Linked DNA regions of Homo sapiens: region 2 is linked to region 1. Evidence: promoter capture Hi-C in 16 types of primary human blood cells and fetal thymus (Javierre and others, 2016). All regions are on one chromosome and are shown on one strand. The core of a region is centred on a gene start or on the middle of the fragment in contact, and the rest is flanking DNA. Distances in the headings are between cores, read along the strand shown.

Region 1 (5,676 bases), core at 1,523-4,022:
TAAAATAATGAGCATATGTTGAGTTGAATAATAAAGCTTCCCAAAATAGAGCGTTAATCTGAGCACCCCATCCCCTAAGAGCCACATCATGAATTACACTATTGATTTAACACAGTGTCAAGATTATTGGTTACAGGCTCTGGGCAGAAATCTATCTCTTACTCCAGCAGTGTTCCCTGCTATAAGATTGCCTTGAGAAAAGAATGTCTTTGACCCTAGTTGATGAAACTAAATCAGACTTAGATTTATTTTTGGTAAAAAAGATTTTTAGCCCAAGACCTCCTGCTTTGCTCCTCTCTTAGCCCCCTCCCTCAGCCATTTTCAGGTCGTAATTTGCAAGGATTGGTGCTGTTTAGTGGTGTTGTGGAGCTGGCACATGGCCTCAAGCAGCCTGATCTCATGGGTGGGTTGCTCAGGCTGGAACTTGAGCACCCAGGAATCCTTGATGATGTCCAGAATGGTGGCACGCTTAGTGGCTTGGCGTAGCATCTGGAGGATCAGGTTCTAGAGCAGGGGAGAGAGAGGTCTTGCCTGAGTTTTTCTCCATTGTGCCACACAGGCAATGAGCAGTTGGACCTAAGAAAGAAGCAGGATAGCCCATCATACCACTCTGGTCAAAGTGGGTGTGGCTCTGATTTTATCTTGGAGACCCAGGCAGTTAACTCCCTGGAGGGGAAGGGAAGAGTTCCTTGGGAGGAATGCTTTCCATATTTCCCTTCTGGCCTAAAGAGAAAGAAGCTGGAACCTGTGTATCAGGCAAGGTTTGGAGCCTAGTGGTTGGCCCTTTATGCCTTCCATACTGTTTATTATAGGACAGGAGCTAGTGTGTGAGATGGCTCTGGTGTGGGAAGAGCCTTTCCCCAGGGTTGGGAGGCCTAGGTTGGGTGACCTAGGTTGGATATTCACCCCTCCCTGTGGGTCATCCCTGAAGGCTCAGCCCTCCTTAGGTAGCCAGTACCTTGCACTCCTGGGAGATGGTATGGTTAGCTGGGAAAGTGACCTCCTTCTGAGTCTCTCTTAGCAGCTTTTTGAGATTGGTGTCATCAAAGGGCAGATGGGCGACCACTAGAGTGTAAAGGATGACGCCCATGCTCCAGGTGTCAGACAGGAAAGGGTTGTAGGGCAAGCCTCGTAAGATCTCTGGGCAAGCGTAAGCAAAGCTGCCACAGTAAGTCTGGCTGAGGTGGGAAAAGCAGTTCACTTGGCGGTAAGAAGGGCTACAACCCACAGGCTGGTTAGAAGGCACCATCTTGGCAAAGCCAAAGTCTGATATCTTCACATTCTCCCACTTGTCCAGCAACAGGTTCTCCAACTTTAAGTCCCTACCAGCAGCAGAAAGGCTGGGCATCAGGCTGGGGAGAGGGCTTAGTTTTAGACTGGGAGCTGAAGGGCCAGGGGTCAGAGGGTAAAGATGAGGACAGAGGAAGTGGGAGGTAGAAACCATTATGAGGGCACAAGGTAGAGAGGAAGGAAAGCCATGGAGTTGTGAGCAGAGCCCAAAGTAGGGAGAGAGACAGAGGATGGTATCTGAGGACCACCGGGAGCTCACCATTGTATTTCATAAAATGCTTTGCATACAGTGAGTACTTTATCAGTATCCTTGACCATATGATTAAAATAGAGTGCATGAATAGGCTAGATATTGAGGAGGGAGTTCGAAAGAGGAAAAAAGGACAGGAAATGGGAGATGTGCATAAAACCCCCTTGAGGGCAAAGGCCCCAGTCTGGGTGGCAGCGCCCTCACCGGTGCACGATGCTCTTGCTGTGCAGGTAGGCAATGCCCAGGGTCAGCTGGGAGAACCACTTGCCAGCAAGGGGCTCAGAGCAGGCCCCGTAGCGCTGGATCCATTCAAGGACATCACCACCCTGAGCCAGTTCCAGAATGATGTATACTCGAGATGTGCTCTCAATGGCCCGATAGAAGTTGATGAGGTACTTGTGCCGCAAGACTTTCATTACCTGACCCCAGAAGAAGGACCCATCAAACCTGGGAAGGGAGAACCCTGACTGCACTCCCAGCCGTCTCCTACCCTCAGCTACTGACTTAGGACTTTGCAATAGGATCAGCCCCTCAACCCCAGAGAACTGGTGGCCTGTGGGCAAATGCTATGTTTTGTGCCTTTACTTTTTGGGGACTGAAGGTGAGTGGGTGGATGGGAAAGAGGTTTAACTTACATAAAGTTTCCTAGCTGCTTAGTGAGACATTTCAGTTCTGGTTTAGGGGTTTCTGGCCCCACCCCTCCTGGCCATACCCCTTCTGAGAAACCTCAAGCAGCTTAGTACCAAGCTCCAGTTCCCTCTTCCAGCCCCCTTTCCAACCTGTATTTCACGGGGCAGGAACTTGTTAAGATAGTCATCAGAGGCCTTCTTCTTTGAGATGATCTTGACTGCCACCATAACCTTCTGCTTTGTGTAGAAAGCCTCATATACCGACCCATAGGAGCCATGGCCAATGGCCTTGCCCACCTCATAACCATATTCATCCATGAGGGAATGGTAGGCTGTGGTGGTTGGTGCTGCCTCTAAGACATCTCCCTTCCCCATGGTGTTGGGCTTGCTGAGAGCAGGGAGCTTTACTACTTGGAAGCCTCCTATCCAAAGGCCAACACCTTGAGCTGCTGAAGGCTAGGGTATCAAAGTGAAGTAGGTCCCCAAATGCTTGCCTATATAGTCACACGAGTCTGGGATGCTGGACTCAGCCCTCCACTAGGAACTTGGAGGGGGAAAGAAAGAGAAGCAGTTCTTTTTGTCTCCACTGGCTGTTGTTACTTTCTCCTTTTGGTTACGGAACTCCTCAAGGTCCCATGTTCCGAATACATCACAATCCACCTCCTATCCATCGTTGGCCACAAAACTTGAGAATGAAGTGCGGCCGGGCGCGGTGGCTCACGCCTGTAATCCCAGCACTTTGGGAGGCCGAGGCGGGCGGATCACGAGGTCAGGAGATCGAGACCATCCCGGCTAAAACGGTGAAACCCCGTCTCTACTAAAAATACAAAAAATTAGCCGGGCGTAGTGGCGGGCGCCTGTAGTCCCAGCTACTTGGGAGGCTGAGGCAGGAGAATGGCGTGAACCTGGGAGGCAGAGCTTGCAGTGAGCCGAGATTGCGCCACTGCACTCCAGCCTGGGCGACAGAGCGAGACTCCGTCTCAAAAAAAAAAAAAAAAAAAAAGAGAATGAAGTGCAGTTGGAAACGTACTCATTCCCAGAGGCACCTTCCACAGTCTGGTGAAACTCCTAAAGATCAGACCTTTCATTGATATATGAGTACCTACTAAGTACCAGACACTGTGCTGAATACTTGGATAAAATGTCACCCAAATGTCATGCCAGACCCTTCCTCCTTCCTCAATCCCTACATACAATCTTTCATCAAATCCTGTCTCTGCTATCTCCTACTTATCTCTTTAATGATACACTCAAGGCTTTCCGAGCCCATTGCAGCCCCCTTAGTTCAATAAGGCCAATAGAGACACTATGATCCTAAAGCTTATAATGCAGCATGAGAAATACGAGTGTGAAAGTATTACCATTGTAAGGTATTGAACATGTTCTAGGAAAATCTAACCTTGAAATGCATCCTTATCTTCTATGAGCCAGAACTCTCTAGTTTTCCTCCACATCCTTCTGGTCACTCCTCAGCCTTCACTGAAGTTATATCTTTCTCTATCCATCCCTTAATCATATCCCAAGTGTTACATCACAAGCTTTATTTTCTCAAACCTTCACATCCTCCCTTAATCTTGTCCATACCCATGGTGTCAATACTACATTTATGCTGACTGCTCCTAATTTCATCTCCATCCCATATATCTGGAGTTTAGATAGAGCAGCCAGTATTACGTGGCCATGTCTGCCCCAGGCATGGAACTTACCATATCCATCTCAAACTTAACCATATCAATAATTGAACTTATTTTCTTCTCTCAGACTTTTCTGTGAGTTGTACACTAATCACCCTTAATTTAGACACTCATATGTCATCCCAGACCCTCCTGCCTCAGTCCCTACATTCAATCTATCACGAAATCCTATCTCTTATACCTCCTGATTCTCTCTTTGATAATATTCTCATGGTTTTCTGAGCCCACTGCTAATCCCTTAGTTCACGCCTCCATCATCGAACAGATGGCCCCCGCCAGCCTTCTGCTCCACTCCAGTCTGTCCATCCCAAGTCCAAAGCATAAATCTGATTTTATTTCCATTTGAAACAATTCAGTGTCTCCCCATTCTCTTTAGGATCAAGTCCATCCAAATTCTTTCACACAGCTTTAAGTCTGATCCTGCTTACCTCCCCAATTTTATTTTTTAACACACACGTAATGATCCACAACTGCTTTTCTGTATTTGTGGCAAACTCCAAATCTTCCTTGAGAACTTGGCATAGGACCTTTTTTCTCTTTTTTTTTTTTTGAGATGGAGTTTCGCTCTTGTTGCCCAGGCTGGAGTGCAATGGCACGATCTTGGCTCACTACAACCTCCAACTCCTGGGTTCAAGCGATTCTCCTGCCTCACCCTCCCTAGTAGCTAGGATTACAGACATGCACCACCATGCCTAGCTATTTTGTATGTTTAGTAGAGACAGGGTTTCTCCATGTTGGTCAGGCAGGTCTTGAACTCCCGACCTCAGGTGATCTGCCCACCTTGGCCTCCCAAAGTGCTGGGATTATAGGCATGAGCCACCGCGCCCCGTCTGTTTTTGTTTTGAGATGGAGTTTCGCTCTTGTTGCCCAGGCTGGAGTGCAATGGCACAATCTCGGCTCACCGCAACCTCCACCTCCCGGGTTCAAGCCATTCTCCCGCCTCAGCCTCCCGAGTAGCTGGGATTACAGGCATGCACCACCACGCCTGGCTAATTTTGTATTTTTTAGTAGAGACGGGGTTTCTCCATGTTGGTCAGGCTGGTCTCGAACTCCCAACCTCAGGTGATCTGCCTGCCTCAGCCTCCCAAAGTGCTGGGATTATAGCCGTGAGCCACCGCGCCCAGTGGAGCTGTTTTAAAGAAGGCTTAACTGACTGCTCAAGCTTCAGTTAGATATTCCTTCTTCCTGGGTGCTCCCACAGGCCCAATACTTTGTCTGTCACAGCACCTAACATAGTGTCTGTAATTGCTTCTGTTGCTTGCATCTCCCACTAAGCTATATAGGGAGGTCAAATGATGAGAAGACAGATGAAGTGTGGAGAATAGAAAAGAGCTGGTTTAGAAAATGAGCAGCATTGAGGGCCCAACTGAGGTTGGAGAACAACTTGTCCATAGACACATATAGTGTTGTGATTCTTTTAGCATCTTGGTTATAGGTACTTGAATGTTGATGGATGATTTAGGGTTTTGCTTGGCAGCTGCAATGAAACAATGGGAGAGGGGCATCAAGAACATACGCAAGAATGTGGCTGAAATGGAATGCGGAATCTAAGCTGCATGGATAAGGAAGATTATCGGGGAACCTGCCCCGATAGTCACGTAGGTTCTTTTCTATTTTCCCTAAGCGTCGGCCGGTTTGAGAAATAAAAGGACAGAGTACAAAAGAGAGAAATTTTAAAGCTGGGCATCCGGGGGAGACATCACATGTCGGTAGATTCTGTAATGCCCCACAAGCCGCAAAACCAGCAAGTTTTTATTAGGGACTTTCAAAAGGGGAGGGAGTGTACGAATAGGGTGTGGGTCACAAAGATCAC
Region 2 (5,676 bases), core at 1-2,500, 94 kb before region 1:
CTCCGCACACACTAATCTTTGGCTTGCTAAGCCCTGTTCAGATTAGGACAGGTCAAGCTAATTCTTCCCGGTCAAGCTCCCCCATGAAGACTTACTCTTCTGTTTACTGTCTCATTCTGAACTTTCTAAATTCTTCTTCCCCCTAGGTCCACTTTCCTCTTGTAATACTTACCAGATGATTGGGAACCACGGGGCCTGGCTCTCTCAGACTCCAGAATAGTCCCTCCTAACACCTGAAGCAGAGTTCTGACCACGAAGCTGCCATGTGTGTCTCCACAGTAGACAAGAAAATCATCACACACCTCAGCGGCTAGTCCCAGGACCAGCTCCTCCAGGGTCTCCGTGGGACCATCCTTTCCATCCTCCTCCTCCTCCTCCTCCTCCTCTGCAGCACTCCCCAGCAATCGAGGGAGCTGTAGCAAAGCACTTTGTAATACATGGACCCCGCATCGGTGACAGGCCACAGTGCGCAAGTTAGAGCGCAGAGCAGCCCACACGCGACAAAGCGGTTTCAAGGGACTGAATCCCAACAGTTCCTGCAGCATCTCACTGCCAGTCCTGTTCGTGGACAAAGCTAGGGCCTGAGTCTCTACTTCCTTCATTATATTGTGCACCATCAGATCTGAAAAGGGAAGAAAGACACACTTTGAAGAGACTTAGTAGAGAATACAGTTATGTACCCTCGCTTAACCAAGGGTCGTGGGTCGGAGGCCGAGGAAGAGGACATGGGAAATGAAACTAAGTCCCCACGCCCTGCCGACCCTAGAAAGTTTCCTTGCCTGCCCTGGATTTGATGCTCTTGGTCTAAACCCCGAAGTTGCTGCCTACCTCGTTCTTCCCCAGTCTCGGGAGCCTCTTTCAATGCTGACAGCGCCCGGCGGAAATATCCCAGAGCTTCCGGGCTCAGGTGCGGGTGCGAATCTGGAGCCGGCTCCGAGCGCCCATCCGGAGGCGGCCAGGGTTGCCGCTTACGGCCTGGTAAGGGGCGCCCCGACCCCTTGGCCCCGCGCCCCCGTTTGCCACCAGCTGGGAACCGGCGCCCCACCTTGTGTGGAGAGCGCGGACCCTGCCCCATGTGTGCTTCGCGACCTGTCCGGCTGCAAAAGCTTCCTTAACTGCGGACGGACCTTCGACGTCGCCAAGCGTGCGCCTTATCCAGACAAAGTTTAGAAACGCGGGCGCGCTCCTGACGCAGCTACTACGTCATAGTTCCGCGCCGCCCCAGCCGGGCGGGGTGGGTGTGTCACCCAGATCGCTCCGCCCCCATCCGCAGGTTCTAACTTTGGCCTGGGACTCTGCCCCTCTACCTCAGCACAGAATCGCCCCGGGTCCTACTACAGAATCAATCCTTGAACACTGCCTCCACGTCGCCGGCTCAATCTGGGCGAGAACCCAGACTTCCACCGCAGCCCCGCAATCTGCAGACCTCAGCGGCAGCGCAGGTGGCAGGTAAGCGGCGCACGCTCGTCCCACTTAGGGCTTAGGATCTCCAGGCTTCGCGCTCATCCCCGGCCCGGAAGCTGCGCCTCTGGCTCAGCCGGACTGGGTCAGGCCAGGGACCGGAGCTTCAGATAGCCCAGGACTCTGCGTGGACGCGCCCCGAGGGGCTGCCGCGCCAGATTCCCATATCCAGGCAGCCACACTCAGAGGGTTGTAGTAGTTGTCCACCTCTGGACAGTCCCACTCAGCCCCTTCTTCACTCTCTGGGCCTCCCAAAAGACAGTCAGCCTTGTCCTCAGGCCCGCACCCAGTTGTCAGCCTCTGACTCCTCTCCCCTCAAAGGATTCTTACCTTGGCTCCTCCTCTTAGCCCTAGTGAGGTTCTCCCCTACCCCCCAACCTCGCCCCAACACACACACAGTCTCCAGGCTTCCCTCAGAGTAAGTCTTTGCTTCCACAGACCTGCCTCCTTTGCCTGTGAGTCATGGCAGCTCCCATGAATGGCCAAGTGTGTGTGGTGACTGGTGCCTCCAGGGGTATTGGCCGTGGCATTGCCTTGCAGCTCTGCAAAGCAGGCGCCACAGTTTACATCACTGGCCGCCATCTGGACACCCTTCGCGTTGTTGCTCAGGAGGTGAGTGCTTCCTCTGGGACCACAGTTGCAGAAACCACCCGAGAGAGCCCTTCCACTTAACAGCTCCTTTCCTAATCCCTTACCTGAAACTATAATACTACTCAACAAGATGTGAATATTTATTCAAAGTGGAAATTAAAAACCCCGTAAATAACTTCAGGTAAGGTAGAATTTTGCCGCCAAGTGAGTTTTATGAAAAAACTTTGTGTTTGAGCCAGGCATGGTGGCACGTTCCTGCAGTCCCAGCAGCTACTCCGGAGGCTGAGGCAGGAGGATCGCTTGAGCCTAGGAGTTGAGCCATGATCACACCACTGCACTCCAGTCTAGACGACACAGCGAGACACTGTATTAAAAAAAAGAAAAGAAAGAAAAGTAAAAAACTTTTTGTTTGAGAGCAGAGATTTTGGAATTGCAACTAAAGGGTTGTGGACCTGTGCTTTCCTCTATTTCAGGCAAGACTTTATTGAACTGCACATTTTTTACTTATTTACTAGACTTCAGTTAAATAAATATTTGAGTATCCATGATTTGCTAGGCATTGGTAAACCACTGAAGTTACCAAGACTAATAAAATCTAATTTCTGCTCTTCAAAGATTCAGTCCATGGTGGAGTACAGTGGCTCATGCCTGTAGTCCCAGCACTTTGGGTGGCCAAGGCAGCAAGATCACTTGAGGCCAGCAGTTGGAGACCAGTCTGGGCAACATAGCTAGACCCAGTCTCTACAAAAAATATTTTTTAAATAATTAGCTAGGCACAGTGGCCTGCACCTGTAGTACCATCTACTTGGGAGGCTGAGGCAGGAGGATCGTTTGAGCCCAGGAGTTCGAGGTTGCAGTGAGCTATGATTGCACCACTGCACTCCAGCCTGGTGACAGTGAGACCCTGTCTCTAAAAAAAAAAATTTTAATTAAAAATGAAGATAGATTCCAACAGGAAGTCAGGTACAGAAAGCAGTCACTTCAATGTAATGTGAATATGGTAAATTATAAGAGGGAGATATGCACAGAATACTCTAGGGGTGTTGGGGAGCATCCAGATGACATAGGAGAGTGGCTAGGGAAAGTGGTTTGGGAAAGCGTCCTGGAGGAGGTAGGTGGTTCTTGAACTGAGTTTTGAAAGGTAAGAATTAGGTAAAGGAAGTTAGGAAAAGCATTCCAGCAGAGGGAGCTCCATAAGCATAGGGACGCTGTGTGAAAGAGTAGATGTGTGAGATAATGCAAGGGAAGAGTAGTGAGTGAGAGGCTGGAGAGGAAAGAGTGGGTCTTGGAAGACCCTAATAGAGAACTCAGGCTTCATCCTCTAAGAGATGGAGATCCAGTTAGGAGATTTTGAACAGGGTTTGTGTTTTAGATAGGTCGTACTGGCTGGATTATGAAGAATTAATTTAAGGCAGACAGACTGGAGGTCAGGTGAGTCGTTGGGAGGCATTGCAGTAGTTCAGGCAAGGAGGGTAATAGGCGGGGACCCAGAGCATAAATTTGGAGAATAGGAGGATTGTTCTTAGATAAAGGACTCTTCTTCCTCTGAAGTTGGAGGTTTGTGGGCATTTGTAGAGAGTGAGACAGAACAGGAAGTAGAAATCATTCATGGCTGATAGCTTTGGTTTTTTCAATTACCAACCAGGAGCATTGGTGGAGTGAGGGTAAGACAACTGGGACTGAGTAGAGGTTTTAGGTGAGTAGTGTAGGGTGGGAGCTAAGGGCATGAGAGATGGAAATGACCACAACAAGGAAAAGGATGCTTACTCATTTCTCAAGAGCAGACTCCATGCCTCACTTGTTCTTACCCTCTACTTGCAAAGTACAATGCTGTGCACATGGTGGGCCTCAGTAAATGTTTGTAGATTATTAAAACTTACATTGCAATTCACCTTGCTCTGTGGTGGGGAGGCCTATCATTCCTGAAACTACTCAAACAGACACCAGAGGGCAGCGTTGCCTGCCATGTTGCCTCTGCAGCAGGCTCTCCTAGGATTGATTGTCTTCTCAGTTCTCAAGCCCACTTTGGTTGGGGAGTTTTGTCATGACTCACACCCATGTGTGAATGTGAGCTCATATCCCCTGTCCTACTCCAGGCACAATCCCTCGGGGGCCAATGTGTGCCTGTGGTGTGCGATTCAAGCCAGGAGAGTGAAGTGCGAAGCCTGTTTGAGCAAGTGGATCGGGAACAGCAAGGGCGTCTAGATGTGCTGGTCAACAATGCTTATGCAGGGGTCCAGGTACCCTTTGAACTTTGTTCCCAACTCCACATTTCTGACCTCCCCCTCAGACCCCTGCATCTTCATCCCCACTCATTGTCCCTTCCATTACCCAGCCCCTCACACCTCCCTACCTTCAGATCATTCATCACCCTCCCTGTGCCTTCCAGACGATCCTGAACACCAGGAATAAGGCATTCTGGGAAACCCCTGCCTCCATGTGGGATGATATCAACAACGTCGGACTCAGGTGGGTGCTCCACTGCCAGGACCCATGTTCCCTCACTCACTTAGCCAACTCGACGGCCAGGCCTTTCCTTACATGCCCTCTCCTTTTCCCTCCGGCCTCCCCCATCTCTTTCTTCTCCCTTCCATTCCATTTGTCCCACTTACCTCTGGAGAAGTTCCATCCAGGTGAGTCTGTACCTGAGAATGTCAACTCTGTCAGTAATTTTCATTGGAACAAGCCCTTGGCCTCTCTCCTGTCTCACTCTCTGCCCATCCAAATGCAAGACCCAGAAGGGAGGAAGCCTCCTCCTCTCAGTAATGCGCACAGCCTGTAGTCTATACTTTCAAAATGGTTAGAGGGAGAAATTGTTTTATTTTAGACTGGGAGAAGCTTAAGAAGAAGGAGCGAACACCAATGCTGTTTAGTCTCCACATCCTCACTCCACACCCACAGGCAAGGGCACTGCCGGGTCAGAGTTGGGAGAGCAGGTACATCACTGGGTCACACAGGGTCATTTAGCCCAGGAGTGAGATGAAACACAGCATTTAGAATTCGCCTAGCATAATGCACACCAGTTATGCCTCTGTTACTGTTGGAATGATGTTACACTCTCATATAATCAAGTCATGCCTGATGGATGTGATCAGTCACCTGTGGGAGTAACCACGAGATTATCGGCAAATCTGTGACTAAAGCATGTAAGAACACCCACCGCTCCAATTTTGGTACTCTGGTAACAATCCCAAGGAAGCAGGATTAGAATGCAATTGTGATTTCCAAAGTGGAAGGAAGATCATTAGGACAGAGGAGGATGGTGAGGCCAAAGGCAAGAAAGGGACACGTTAAGAGCTGGAAATTGGCCAGTGTTCATGACCATAGCCTCCAAAGAGAGGTGCCTTCCACACCCTCATCTCTTGCTGGCCAGGGTTTTGACCCTGAAGCAGAGATTCAAGGCAGAGGCCCAGACCCTCGACCTTGGGCCCTGATGAATTATCCAAGGTAAAGGCCCCTTGATGAGCCCCTGACAGCCCCCCAGCACCTCCTGCCCACCCATTCCCCATGCGCATTTACTGCCTTTCCTCTGTATTACCTTGGGCTGCACTTTCCTTTAAAACTATAACTCTACTTGTTTTCATTTGGAAGGTCCTAATTCTTTCCCTATGCAAAAGAAATTTA

Evidence for each region. The method cuts DNA at HindIII sites, captures the fragments that hold promoters and counts their contacts. A CHiCAGO score of 5 or more calls a contact.
Region 2: the fragment with the promoter of DHRS1 here is called in contact with the fragment with the promoter of TSSK4 in region 1 in 17 of 17 cell types (naive CD8 T cells, naive B cells, total B cells and 14 more); the score reaches 22.1 in naive CD8 T cells.

Annotation. Positions count from the first base shown.
Region 1 is chr14:24,202,792-24,208,467 of GRCh38, reverse strand. It overlaps TSSK4 (testis specific serine kinase 4), which reads right to left and starts at 2,772. Exons shown (of 4, transcript NM_001184739.2): 1 at 2,320-2,772; 2 at 1,745-1,959; 3 at 959-1,352; 4 at 220-504. The coding sequence starts at 2,544. The coding sequence ends at 322. RefSeq lists enhancers at 4,241-5,139, 5,140-5,676, 5,245-5,676. The HindIII fragment of the contact is 3,453 bases long and covers 39-3,491 here.
Region 2 is chr14:24,295,354-24,301,029 of GRCh38, reverse strand. DHRS1 (dehydrogenase/reductase 1) reads left to right here and starts at 1,250. Exons shown (of 9, transcript NM_001136050.3): 1 at 1,250-1,449; 2 at 1,900-2,073; 3 at 4,149-4,292; 4 at 4,442-4,521. The coding sequence starts at 1,924. NOP9 (NOP9 nucleolar protein) reads right to left here and starts at 1,180. Exons shown (of 10, transcript NM_174913.3): 1 at 829-1,180; 2 at 173-622. The coding sequence starts at 1,075. RefSeq lists an enhancer at 1,906-2,696. The HindIII fragment of the contact is 3,784 bases long and covers 1,109-4,892 here.